3 separate regions of the Homo sapiens genome follow, and regions 1 and 2 are each linked to region 3. Evidence: promoter capture Hi-C in 16 types of primary human blood cells and fetal thymus (Javierre and others, 2016). All regions are on one chromosome and are shown on one strand. The core of a region is centred on a gene start or on the middle of the fragment in contact, and the rest is flanking DNA. Distances in the headings are between cores, read along the strand shown. Region 1 holds the start of NLRP8 (NLR family pyrin domain containing 8). Region 2 overlaps LOC124904784 (a long non-coding RNA gene). Region 3 holds the start of ZIM3 (zinc finger imprinted 3).

The links. The method cuts DNA at HindIII sites, captures the fragments that hold promoters and counts their contacts. A CHiCAGO score of 5 or more calls a contact.
Region 1: a contact is called between the fragment with the promoter of NLRP8 here and the fragment with the promoter of ZIM3 in region 3, in 3 of 17 cell types (M2 macrophages, fetal thymus and M0 macrophages). The highest score is 8.9, in M2 macrophages.
Region 2: a contact is called between a fragment that was not itself captured here and the fragment with the promoter of ZIM3 in region 3, in 1 of 17 cell types (activated CD4 T cells). The highest score is 5.0, in activated CD4 T cells.

Annotation. Positions count from the first base shown.
Region 1 is chr19:55,946,395-55,950,769 of GRCh38, reverse strand. It overlaps NLRP8 (NLR family pyrin domain containing 8), which reads right to left and starts at 2,938. Exons shown (of 10, transcript NM_001433706.1): 1 at 2,501-2,938. The coding sequence starts at 2,867. The HindIII fragment of the contact is 8,931 bases long and covers 1-4,375 here.
Region 2 is chr19:58,165,964-58,170,279 of GRCh38, reverse strand. All of the region lies in intron 1 of LOC124904784 (a long non-coding RNA gene), which reads right to left. Among named protein-coding and RNA genes, the nearest start is that of ZNF274, 15 kb to the left of the region's middle. The HindIII fragment of the contact is 1,581 bases long and covers 460-2,040 here.
Region 3 is chr19:57,142,172-57,146,451 of GRCh38, reverse strand. ZIM3 (zinc finger imprinted 3) reads left to right here and starts at 1,250. Exons shown (of 5, transcript NM_052882.1): 1 at 1,250-1,593; 2 at 3,767-3,823. The coding sequence starts at 3,809. The HindIII fragment of the contact is 22,671 bases long and covers 1-1,289 here.

The sequences.
Region 1 (4,375 bases), core at 1,689-4,188, 1.2 Mb after region 3:
TATAGGCGTGAGCCATCGTGCCCAGCCTGGGTGCTATTTTAAACAGCAAAACCACCAACTCAAAGCACAAAAGTGTGGCACCACATAGGCGTGGAAATGACACTGGCTTACGGGGTGAGAGCTAAAGCCAGAAGGCAGAGCGTCACCTTGTTTGACCTCGGCTAGGAGGTCAGCTCGATTTTTTTGCTGCGTTGCTGTCTGGGAATGATCTTGAAAGCGCTGTAAGTATTGATTTGGGGGTTACGAATACATTTTAATGAGTAGGCACATTCACGAATACAGAATCCATGAACAATGAGGATCAACTGCGTACGTGTGTCTCTGTGTGTGTGTGTGTGTGTGTGTTTCTTGAGATGGAGTTCTGCTTTTGTCACCCAGGCTGGAGTGCAGTGGCATGATCTTAGCCCTCTGCAACCTCTGCCTCCTGGGTTCAAGCAATTCTCTTGCCTTAGCCTCCCGAATAGCTGGGATTACAGGCACCCGTCACCACGCCCGGCTATTTTTTTTTTTTTTGTAGTTTTAGTAGAGACTGGGTTTCACCATGTTGGCCGGGCTGGTCTTGAACTCCTGACCTTGGGTGATCCACCCACCTCTGCCTCCCAAAGTGCTGGGATTACAGGCGTGAGCCACCGTGCCTGGCCTCTCTGTGTATTTTTCATCAGGTTTTCATAAATATTAACATTTTCTGTTTAACACTAAGATTTTCTCTACCACTGGGTCACGGGGTTTCCATCCCCTCTGATTTTCTTTTCCGGTGACTCTCTCTCCTTTTCACATGATGAGCTATTTCCTCCTGTGTTAGGTCTCAACCTTAGCATCATTTCCTCAAAGAGGACTTCCTAGGCTGCCTTATCAAAAGAAAGTCCCTTTTCACAATCAATTACTCTCTAGCCATCTAATATTTGAGCACCTATGACATGCTAGGTGCTGAGCCAGCTGTTGGGGTGCCAGTGGCTAAGGAGACGTAAGGCACCCACTCTCCTGTGTTTATGTTTAAAACTGTGGAGCTGACGTTTTCTCCATTCTTACCAATGAGACTGACTACTTGTAATATCAGCTATTGGGAGAGGCGGGTTCACAGCTCCTATCATGTTTCTGGATTGGTGTATTTTCCTTTAATACAGTAGTCCCCCCTTCTCTGCAGGGTCTATGTTCCAAGATCCCCGGTGGATATCTGAAACTGTGGATAGTACTGAACAATGTGGATACTGATTTTTTTAAATACATATCTAGGCCGGGTGTGGTGGCTCACACCTGTAATTCCAGCACTTTGGGAGGCCGAGGCAGGCAAATCACCTAAGGTCAGGAGTTTGAAACCAGCCTGGCCAACATGGTGAAACCCCGTTTCTACTAAAAATACAAAAATTAGCTGGGTGTGGTGGTGCGCACCTGTAATCCCAGCTACTGGGGAGGCTGAGGCATGAGAATTGCTTGAACCTGGGAGGTGGAGGTTGCAGTGAGCTGAGATCACACCACTGCACTCCAGCCTGTGTGACAGAATGAAGACTCCATCTCAAAATAGAAAAAAAATACATACCGATCTATGATAAAAGTTTAAATTATAAATTAGGTACAGTAAGAGATTAACAATAATAATGAAATAGAACAATTATAATACTATACTATCATAAACGGTATGTAAATGTGGTCTCTCTCTGTCTCAGAATATCTCAGTGTACTGTACTCATCTATTTTTGGCCATGATCAACCCAAACTTCAGAAAGCAAAACCTTGGATAAGGGGATGACTGTAGTCCAGCTCTGCTTTATTCATATTGAAGATGAGGTTTTGGATTACAATATCCTCCAGTGGGATTCACCCTTTGTTGCTGCGAAATGGCCTTTTAAAGTGTTTAACCTTCTTGCTTTAAATATAGCACTCCTGACATCACCATAGCTATACCAGCTGTCTTCTGCTGTTTCCATAGCATATGCTTTTCCACTATTTTACTTCCTACTTCTCTATGACTTCATTTAACGTTCACCTCATATAAGCAGTATTCAGTTAAGTTTTTAAAAAATAGGCCCATATGGGCTGGGCACAGTGGCTCACACCTGCAATCCCAGCACTTTGGGGGGCCAAGGCAGGCGGATTACCTGAGGTCAGTAGTTCGAGACCAGCCTGGCCAACATGGTGAAACCCCGTCTCTACTAAAAATAAAAAAAAATTACCCAGGCATGGTGGTGGGTGCCTGTAATCCCAGCTACTCAGGAGGCTGAGGCAGGAGAATCACCTGTACCTGGGAGGCGGGGTTTGCAGTGAGCCGAGATTGTGCCATTGCACTTCAGCCTGGGCAAGAAGAGCGAAACCCCATCTCAGAAAAATAAAATTAAAAAAATGCCCGTATGACAGTCTTTGCCTTTGGGTTAGATCCATTATCTTCCTCCACTGTTTGCTTTCTTGCTCAGAAGGCCAATAAGTGATAGGGGTGGTGACTAGAGTAGTTTAGCTGCCCAGCAGCCAAGCCCACCCCCACTTTATCCACCAGATCAACACTCACCATTTATCTCTCTGCGGACTACAACACACATTTTATCACAGTTCATAATGGCAAAGATGTTCGAAGTCACATCCCAAGCGCGTCGTCCAGGGAAACGCTCTATCAAGAGATGAACCACCTCTGCCCAGCTGGCTGTCTCGACCTGGTCCCAGGTGATGGGCATGGTGCCAGTACTGAGCTCAGTCAGTAAGAGCTGCTTGAACCGTTGTAGCTCCTCATGGCTCACGTTTCTCATGTACAGCATGACCCCATTTTCACATGGGGAGCCGGGGTAGCAAGAGAATGTCCAGGGCGGAATATGAGAACTGTGAGTGGAGGAGGATGAAAAGGGAATGGGGGTGTCAGAGGGTGGATTCACGTCACTCATCTTTAGTCAAGGCAGAGAACACCTCAGTGTCCACGATAAAGACAACCGATTGGAAGAGAGAAACACGAGACCTGCAGAGACATAAAACAATAAAACAAGAAGATGAAAACACTACCCAAGAAAACAGATTCGTGTAATGCTTACTTGGCAGGTATTCTGCGTGCCGGGTACTCCCTTTACCTCCTTTCCTCAAAGATTCTCTGCCCTATGGAAAAACTGAAGATGCATGGAATGTTTGGGATTAGTCCATTAGACTAATGGATTGTTTGTAGTTTCTATTCTCCATGACTTCTTTTGGGGAAGAGGCAAGCAAAATATCAAAGCCTTCACAAAAGGTTTAGCGAAAAGAAAAATTAGAAGCAGGTAAAATAATTCAGTGAAGCTAAAATCTAGAAAATATATGGTTGGTTAGAAGGCTCCATTAGATTAAAAGTGATCTCAAATTCAACAAAGTTTTTATTCTTAAAAAAATGGATCATGTATTAGAGAGATGCAAATCAAAACCACAACGAGATGTCATCTCACACCAGTCAGAATGGTGATTATTAAAAAGTCAAGCAATAACAGATGCTGTATTCTTAAAAAATGGATCATGTATTAGAGAGATGCAAATCAAAACCACAACGAGATGTCATCTCACACCAGTCAGAATGGTGATTATTAAAAAGTCAAGCAATAACAGATGCTGGTGAAGTCGCAGAGAAAAAGGAACACTTATACTCTGTGTGTGGGAGTGTAAATTAGTTCAACTACTCTGGATGACAGTGGGGCAACTCCTCAAAGACCTAAAAAGAGAACTACCATTCAACTCAGCAATCCCATTACTGGATATATATCCAAAGGAATATAAATCATTCTATTATAAAGACACATTCCTGTGTATGTTCATTGCAGCACTACTCACAATAGCAAAGTCATGGAATCAACCTAAATGCCCATCAGTGATAGACCGGATAAAAAAATGTGGTACATAAACACCATGGAATACTATGCAGCCATAAAAAAGAATGAGATCATGACCTTTGCAGGAACATAGATGGAGCCAGAGACCATTATTCCTTAGCAAACTAACACAGGAACAGGAAACCAAATACCACATGTGCTCATTTATAAGTGGTAGCTAAACGATGAGAACACATGGACACATAGAGGGAACACCACACACTGGAGTCTGCTAGAGGCTGGAGGGTGGGAGGAGGGAGAAGATCAGGAAAAATAACTAATGGGTACTGGGATTAATACCTGGGTGATGAGATAACCTGTACAACAAACCCACCCCCATAACACGTTTGCCTATATAACAAACCTGCACATGTACCCCTGTATCTAAAAGAAATGTAAAAAAGAAATAAAATAAAAAGGATCATGGGTGTATTTTTGTCCCCCCTGCCCCAACTTCCAATAATAGTTTATTTATTTATTATTTATTTATTTACTTAGAGACAGAGTCTCACTCTGTTTCCCAGGCTGGAGTGCAGTGGTGTGATCTCGGCTCACTGCAACCTCCA
Region 2 (4,316 bases), core at 1-2,500, 1.0 Mb before region 3:
TGGTCTTGATCTCCTGACTTCGTGATCCGCCCACCTCGGCCTCCCAAAGTGCTGAGATTACAAGCACGAGTCACCACGCCCGGCCGTTTTAAAACTTTTAAAATTAAAGTTTAGTCCAGTCACGGTGGCTCACACCTGTAATCCCAGTACTTTGGGAGGTCAAGGCATTAGGATCACTTGAGATCAGGAGTTCAAGACTAGCCTGGCCAACATGGTGAAACTCTGTCTCTACTAAAAATACAAAAACTAGCCAGGTGTGGTGGTGCTTGCTTGTAATCCCAGCTCCTCAGGTGGTTGAGGCAGGAGAATCACTTAAACCCAGGAGGCAGAGGCTGGAGTGAGCAGAGATCACACAACTGCACTCCAGCCTGGGCAACAGAGTGAGACTGTTGTCTCAAAAAATTAATTAATTAAATTAAAGTTTATATGTAACCTTTATATACATAAACTATATAAGCTTTAAACATATATATACACATAAACATATATATAGGCATAAAGTCCTCAACTTCACAACTTGATGAGTTTTTTTATATATGTCTAAATATATAAATATATAATGTCCATATATAAAAATCCATCACACAGGTCAACAGAAAATATATTTCCAAAACCCTGTACCACTTCCTGGTTAATATCTCCCAGAGTTAACCACTATCCTGATTATCATCATAAGTTTTTTTTCTGTCCTCAAACTTCATATAAATGGAATCATATAGTCTATGGTTTTCTGTGTCAACATAATGTGTTAGAGATTCATCCAAGTTGCTGCATGTATCAGTAGTTAATGTTTGGTAAATTGCTGAGTAGTATTCCACTATGGATGTACCACATTTTGTTTATACATTTTATTATTGATGGACTGCTGGGCTGTATCCAGTTTTGGCCCCTTATGACTAATGCTTCTATGAGTGTCCTTTTAGATGTCTTTTGGGGACATGGCTCATACTTCCATTGTAAGAAATTACTATTATGTTCTCTTGGGCAGTTTTTCCAGAAAGAATACAAATTTTGAATGCTAACAGGTCTGAAAATGCTTACTCTCTCCTCATATGTGTGAATGATATATTTGCTGAGCATCAAATCCTGAAATCAGAGTCTTTGTGTTTCTGGAATCTTCACTTATCTTCTAGTGTCCAGGGTTTCAGAAGAGAAACCAATGCTGCTTATACATACCCTGTGCTCTTTGTAAGGGATTTGCAATGAAACTTGTGAAGTTTGCACTAGTTTTGGAGTATGGGTACTTCACCAGACTATGATGTCTTTTTAACCCTGCCAAGACATTGGACATGCCCTTAGAAATGTGAAGATACGTACAACTCATTTTTTTTATTTTTTTGAGATGGAGTTTTGCTCTTGTCACCCAGGCTGGAGTGCAATGGCACAACCTTGGCTCACTGCAACCTCTACCTCCCGGGATCAACTGATTCTCCTGCCTTAGCCTCCCAAGTAGCTGGGATTACAGGCATGTGCCACCACACTCAGCTAATTTTTCTATTTTTACTAGAGACAGGGTTTCACCATGTTGGCCAGGCTTGTCTCAAACTCCTGACCTCAGGTGATCCTCCTGCCTCGGCCTCCCAAAATGCTGGGATTACAGGTGTGAGTCACCGTGCCTGGCCAACATACAACTCTTTATGATGCTTCTATTCAAGTAGATAGAAGAATGCTATTGGCAAAGTATTAGCAAGTTAGTATAAAGCTCTCTGATTTGTTTGGAGTGATAATATTTGGATTATGCAGAAAAAAATTGATAGCATATCCTTCAGCCCTCATCTAGGACTATCATAAAATTATACACATAAGGATCCCCATGATGCTAAAAGGTGTATGATTCCTGCACCATTCTTCAAGGTTGACGGTTCTTTTATTCATACGTGATGTAGAAAAATAGATACGCTGTTGCCATATGATTCCTGCACCATTCTTCAAGGTTGACGGTTCTTTTATTCATACGTGATGTAGAAAAACAGATACGCTGTTGCCACTGATAACATTTATGGGCAACCCGCTTGGGTCCCCTTCCACACTGTGGAAGCTTTGTTCTTTCGCTCTTTGCAATAAATCTTACTGTTGCTCACTCTTTAAAAAAAAAAAAATTTACATGTGATTACCTATGACAACCATTTCTCTTCTTTTCTTTTCTTTTAGACAGGGTCTCGTTTAGTCACCCAGGCTGGAGTGCAGTGGTACCATCTCAGCTCACTGTAGCCTTGACCCCCTCAAGCAGTCCTCACTTCCCAAGTAGCTGGGACTACAGGAATGCACCACCACGCACAGCTAATTTTTGTATTTTTATTAGAGACGGGGTTTCTCCATGTTGCACAGGCTGGTCTTGGACTCCTGAGCTCAAGTGATCCACCTGCCTTGCCCTCCAAAAGTGCTGGGATTACAGGTGTGAGCCTCTGTGCCCAGCCATGATTATCTATGGCAACCATTTTTTTTTTTTTTTTTGAGATGGAGTTTTGCTCTGTTGCCCGGGCTGGAGGGCAGTGGTGTGATCTTGGTTCACTGCAACCTCCACCTCCTGGGTTCAGCTATTCTCCTGCCTCAGCCTCCTGTGTAGCTGGGATTACAGGCATATGGGAGACATTTCTTTTTCTTTTTCTTTTTTTCTTGTTTTTTTTGAGACGGAGTCTTGCTCTGTCACCCAGGCTGGAGTGCAGTGGCACGATCTCGGCTTACAGCAAGCTCTGCCTCCTGGGTTCACACCATTCTCCTGCCTCAGCCTCCTGAGTAGCTGGGACTCCAGGCGCCCACCACCACACCCAGCTAATTTTTTTTTTTTGTATTTTTAGTAGAGACGGGGTTTCACGGTGCTAGCCAGGATGGTCTTGATCTCCTGACCTCGTGATCCACCCGCCTCGGACTCCCAAAGTGCTGGGATTACAGGCGTGAGCCACTGTGCCCAGCCGCATATGGCCAGACATTTCTATGAGACATTGTTCATCAGGCCTAGACCCTGAGTCCCCATTAAATGGTGTTTCTATGGCAAATTAGGGACATATGTAGAATAGAACTGCTTATCCCTGCTGATCTGTGGCTGCAGGGAGTCACAAGTTTGCAGTCTTGTTACATTCAGATACTTAAGAGTTAAAAAATAACTGGTGGCTTTTGCCTCCTTTATCCCTGATGTCAAATAAAATGGAATTCCAACCAATAGCTTTTCCACATTGATCTTTTTTCAATGAGTTTTTCTAATTTGTTTGAATTTCCTGGTGTCAAATAAGGTAAAAGCCATGGTTGAAAGCTTGCCAATACTGACTGCATTCATAGTGTTCTCCAGTATGAGTCCTCTTACGTTCAATAATATGAGAACAACTCCTGAATGCTCTTCCACGCAAATTACATGTATGGGGTTTTCCTCAGTATGAGTCCTCTGATGTCACATCATAAGGGCTAGGCTACGTCTGAAGCCTTTCCCACGATGACTGTATCCATCACTTTGCTCTCCAGTGTGTCTTCTGTGATTTTTGAGTAGTGGAGGAGCAAAGTGTAAAACCTTTCCCTGAATGATTCCCTTCATAAGGTGTCTCTATAGATTCTTAGCTATAGGGTAAAAGTGTTCACTTCTTTAGAAGAATTTCCTAAATTCACTGCAAATATATAATTTCCCACAAGTATAAATTGTCTCATATTGAATAAGGTATAATTTGTGTCTACAGCCTTTGCTACAGCGATTACATTTATAGTATTGTTCTCCTGTATAAGTTCTGAAACATACTGAAAGAAATATTTCTTAATAAAGACTCTCCAACACTCAACACATTTGTAAGGTCTATTTCCTGAGAGAGTTTGCTCATACATCAGTGGGGTTGAGCTCTGTTTAAAGACTTCTTTACACATACTACATTTATATGGTCTCTCTCCAGTATGACTTCTCTGATGTCAGAAAGTATTTACCATAAACAGGGATTTCTCACATTCAGAACATCTGGAGGGTTTGTCAACTGTGTGAGTGCTCTCAAAACAAAGATGAGAGGAGCTCTGAATACACTTTTCCACATTCCTTACATTCAACTCAACTCTCTCTAACATGAATTCGCTTACATTGACTGAGACTTGTGCTACACTTAAAAAATTTACTACGTATATTTCATATATAAGGCTTTTCTACACTGAACTGTTTGCAAGTCTAAGAAGTTGAGTGTTTTGACCAAAAGCATTCCCAAAATCATAATTTTCAGGGGTTTTTCCCTGTGCATTTATGGTTTATTAAATCTGAATGTTGTTTTACAATGAGTCATGTATGTAGTGGTATTCATTGATAAGAATATTGTTTAGTGGGCCAGGCACGGTGGCTCACGCCTGTAGTC
Region 3 (4,280 bases), core at 1-2,500:
ATATATAAAATCACTCCACCCCTTTCCGTTCACCTGCAGGCTTGCTCTGTCTCTCAGGCTGGAATGCAGTGGCAAGATCCTTGCTCACTGCAGCCTTGACCTCTTGGGCTCAATTGATCCTCCCACCTCAGCCTTCCAAGTATCTGGGACTATAGTAGTCCGACACGGCGGCTGGGATTCAGGCTGGCTGGGTCATTTTGCTTTTTTTTTCTTTTTTTTTTTTTTGAGATGGAGTCTCCCTCTGTCGCCCAGGCTGGAGTGCAGTGGCATGATCTCAGCTCACAGCAACCTCTGTGTTTTGGGTTCAAGCAATTCTGCCTCAGCCTCTTGAGTAGCTGAGTAGCTGGGACTACAGGTGTGTACCACCATGCCCAGCTAATTTTTGTATTTTTAGTAGAGACAGGATTTCACCATGTTGACCAGGCTGGTCTTGAACTCCTGACCTCAGGTGATCTGTCTGCCTCAGTCTCCCAAAGTGTTGGGATTACAGGCTTGAGCCACCGCACACCGCCAAGGGTCATTTGCTAATACGATCTTTGGATACCTCTTCTCCTGGGAGGAGGTCTAGTCTGGTGCATCCTGTCCCATGAAGTCTGGTTTAATCTCTTGGAATTCAGTTGGACGCTCAATTTTGGAAGGTCTCCATGTCTGCAGGCAAGGGCATGTAGCCTGTGTTTAAATTCAACACCCAGACTAGGGTGGGGATGGATTGGCATGTTGATCTCATTTTGAGAGTATTAGTACAGCTGAAGAGATTTTGCCAGTTGGAGGTTGGAGCCTGAATTCTTTCTGTCGGGCGGAGAGCACTTTAAGGCATTGTTCCACCTCCGCTGGCCCTATTTCTTTTTTCTTTTCCTTTCTTTTTTTTTTTTTGAGACGTGAGATGGAGTCTCGCTCATTGCCCAGGCTGGAGTGCAGTGGCACGATCTTGGCTCACTGAAGCCTCCGTCTCCCGGGTTCAAGCGATTCTCCTGCCTCAGCCTCCCAAGTAGCTGGGATTACAGGCACGTGCCACCATGACCAGCTAATTTTTGTATTTTTAGTAGAGACGGGGTTTCCCCATGTTGGCCAGGCTGGTCTTGAACTCCTGTCCTCCCAAAGTGCTGGGATTACAGGCATGAGCCACCGTGCCCAGCCAATTTTTGTTGTTTTAATTTATTTTCATCCTCTGACATTTGGATAATGTTTTCCATGCTTTCTATTTCAAAGTTAAGGTAAAAAATTTTTACTTGCATGAACTTAAAAAAAATTCCATTGGAAACTGATTGGGCAGATTTGAAAATTAAGCTTTCACAATCACAATTTTTATGAGAGTTCATTCAGTTTTGGAGAAGTCGAGGAAAGAATTGGGAATTGAAATTTTGATGTGGCCTGATAGGATCAGGTGGGGCTTTTGATAGGAAGTGAGTGTTTTGGGTTGTTTCTTGACTGGATTATGATGCGGAATACAGCGGGTAGAGGGCCGATTAAGTTTTAGTCATTAGTGTAGCTTTTCAGTATACACGCCTTTTCATTTTCAGTCCCTTTCAGAAGAAAAGACCACAGGCATCAGAAATCAATCAACTTGCTAATTTATGCCAGATTCCACTGGAGGTAAGCTGATTTTTTTTTCTCCCTGAAAACCAAATGTCTGGGTTTTGTTTGTTTGTTTGTTTTGCATTTTTACTTAGTTTCATTTTTCTACCTCTCCTATTTGCTGGAATAAGCTAAATATTTTACATTGGTAGTTTAGATTTTTTTTTTAGTTGTCATATTGAAAAGTGATGCTCCCAGGACACTCAAAATTATTTTCGTGGCCCTCCAGTCCTTAGCATTACTGCTGGCCCACAGCTACTTCTAAAAACTTTTTATTGACAAATAATAATTGTGTTTATTTATGGGGTACAATGTGATGTTTTGATACATGTTTACATTGGGGGGATGATTAAATCAAGCTAATTAATCTATTTTTGTGGTGAAAGCATTTACAATTTACTGTTTTTTAAAATTATATATATTTTTTGTGCTAGAATTGGACTCCTCAAACTTTAATAAACATTAAAGTTGTGCCCGGCAAGTTTATTCTTTTTAAAAACATATTTACTTATTTAAAACTTTATTCCTGGCTGGTGTGGTGGCTCATGCATGTAATCCCAGGATTTGGGGAGGCTGAGGGAGGAGGATTGCTTGAGCCTAGGAGTTTGAGACCAGTTTAGGTGACATAGCAAGATCCCTTCTTTACAAAAAATAAAAAGTTAGCTGATGTGGTAGCATGCACCCATAGTCTTAACTATTCAGGAGGCCAAGGTAGGAGGATTGCTTGAGCCAGGGATTTTTAAACTGCTGTGAGCCGGGATCACATCACTGCACTCCAGCCTGGGTGACAGAATGAGACCCTGCCTCAATAAAATAAAATAAAAAATAAAAACTTTATTACTTAAACATTGAGACAGAGGTTTCACTATGTTGCACAGGCTGGTCTCAAACTCCTGGGCTTGGCTGGATGTGGTGGTTCACGCCTATAATCCCAGCACTTTGGGAGGCTGAGGCCGGCGGATCACTTGAGATCAGCAGCTCGAGACCAGCCTGAACAACATGGTAAAACCTTGTCTCTACTAAAAATGCAAAAATTAGCTGGGCATGGTGGTGCATGCCTGTAATCCCAGCTACACGGGAGGCTGAGGCAGGGGAATCCCTTGAACCCGGGAGGCAGAGGTTGCAGTGAGCCGAGACTGTGCCACTGCACTCCAGCCTGGGCGACAGAGCAAGACTTGGTCTTAAAAAAAAAAAAAAAAAAGTAACTCCTGGGCTCAACTGATCCTCCCACCTTGGCTTTCCAAAGTGCTGGGATTATAGGTGTGAGCTGCCACGCGTGGCCAAAATCTACGCTTTTGGCAAAGAATTACCAATGATCCAGCTGTCCCGCTTATGGCAAAGCTGAAGGGCTATCTGCATCCCATGTTCACTGCGGCGTTATTCGTCACGACCACAGCTGCTTCAGGATTCATGGTTTCTGCTCTCGGCCTTCCTTACTGTGCTCTAGCTGATCTGATGCTTGCCTCATTGTCTTTGCACAGGCTTGTTTTAAAGGTGCTGTTGAACTGCTGTTTAGCTTTCTCTCTCTCTCTTTTTTTTTTTTTTTGGGACGGAGTCTCGCTCTGTCGCCCAGGCTGGAGTGCGGTGGCGCGATCTCGGCTCACTGCAAGCTCCGCCTCCCGGGTTCCCGCCATTCTCCTGCCTCAGCCTCCCGAGTAGCTGGGACTACAGGCGCCCGCCACCACGCCTGGCTAATTTTGTTTTTGTATTTTTAGTAGAGACAGGGTTTCACCGTGTTGGCCAGGATGGTCTTGATCTCCTGACCTCGTGATCCGCCTGCCTCGGCCTCCCAAAGTGCTGGCATTACAGGCATGAGTCACCGCGCCCAGCCAATTTTGTATTTTTAGTAGAGACGGGGTTTCACCATGTTGGACAGGCTGGTCTCGAACTCCTGACCTCTGGTGATCTGCCTGCTTCAGCCTCCCAAAGTGCTGGGATTACAGGCGTGAGCCACCGTGCCTGGCTTGCACTTTCTTCTTTGAGACCCAGTCTCAATAAATAAACAAACACAAAAAAACCAAAACAAAAAAAAAAAAGACCTTCAGAAGGGGATCACTGAGGTACAAGTCAGGGCTTTTCTGAGTGGGTTAGGGAGAGCTTTTATCCAGGGTGTGGAGCATTCTATGCTGGATGATCCCCAACTTCCAAAGCGAATTCTGCTATTTCATGGTTCTTTTCCATTTTCCCTCAGATCTGCCTTCCCAAGACTTTACTGACTGGTGAAGAACAGGAAATGAACAATTCCCAGGTGAGCTTTTCAAAAAAATCTAAATCTCATAATGAATAAACGTATGACCCACGTTCCTCTTGCTCAGAATTAACTGTGCTAACCTTTTGGCATATTTTCCTCCTTCCTTCCATACTTCTATTAAAAGGTAACACACACTCTACTTTCTGCTTTCCTATTAAAGCTGAAACATTTCAAGTAAAGCTCAAGGCTGGGCATGGTGGCTCACACCTGTAATTCAGCAATCTAGGAGGCCAAGGCAGGCGGATCGCTTGAGTTCAGGAGTTTGAAACCAGCCTGGGCAACATGGCGAGATCCCGTCTCTACAAAAAATTAGCTGGGTGTGGTGGTGGTGGCGTACACCTGTAGTCTCAGCTACTCTGGAGGCGGAGGTGGGAGAATCGCTTGAACCTGGGAGGTTGAGGCTGCAGTGAGCCATGATTGTGCCACTGCACTCCAGCCTGGGTGACAGAGCATG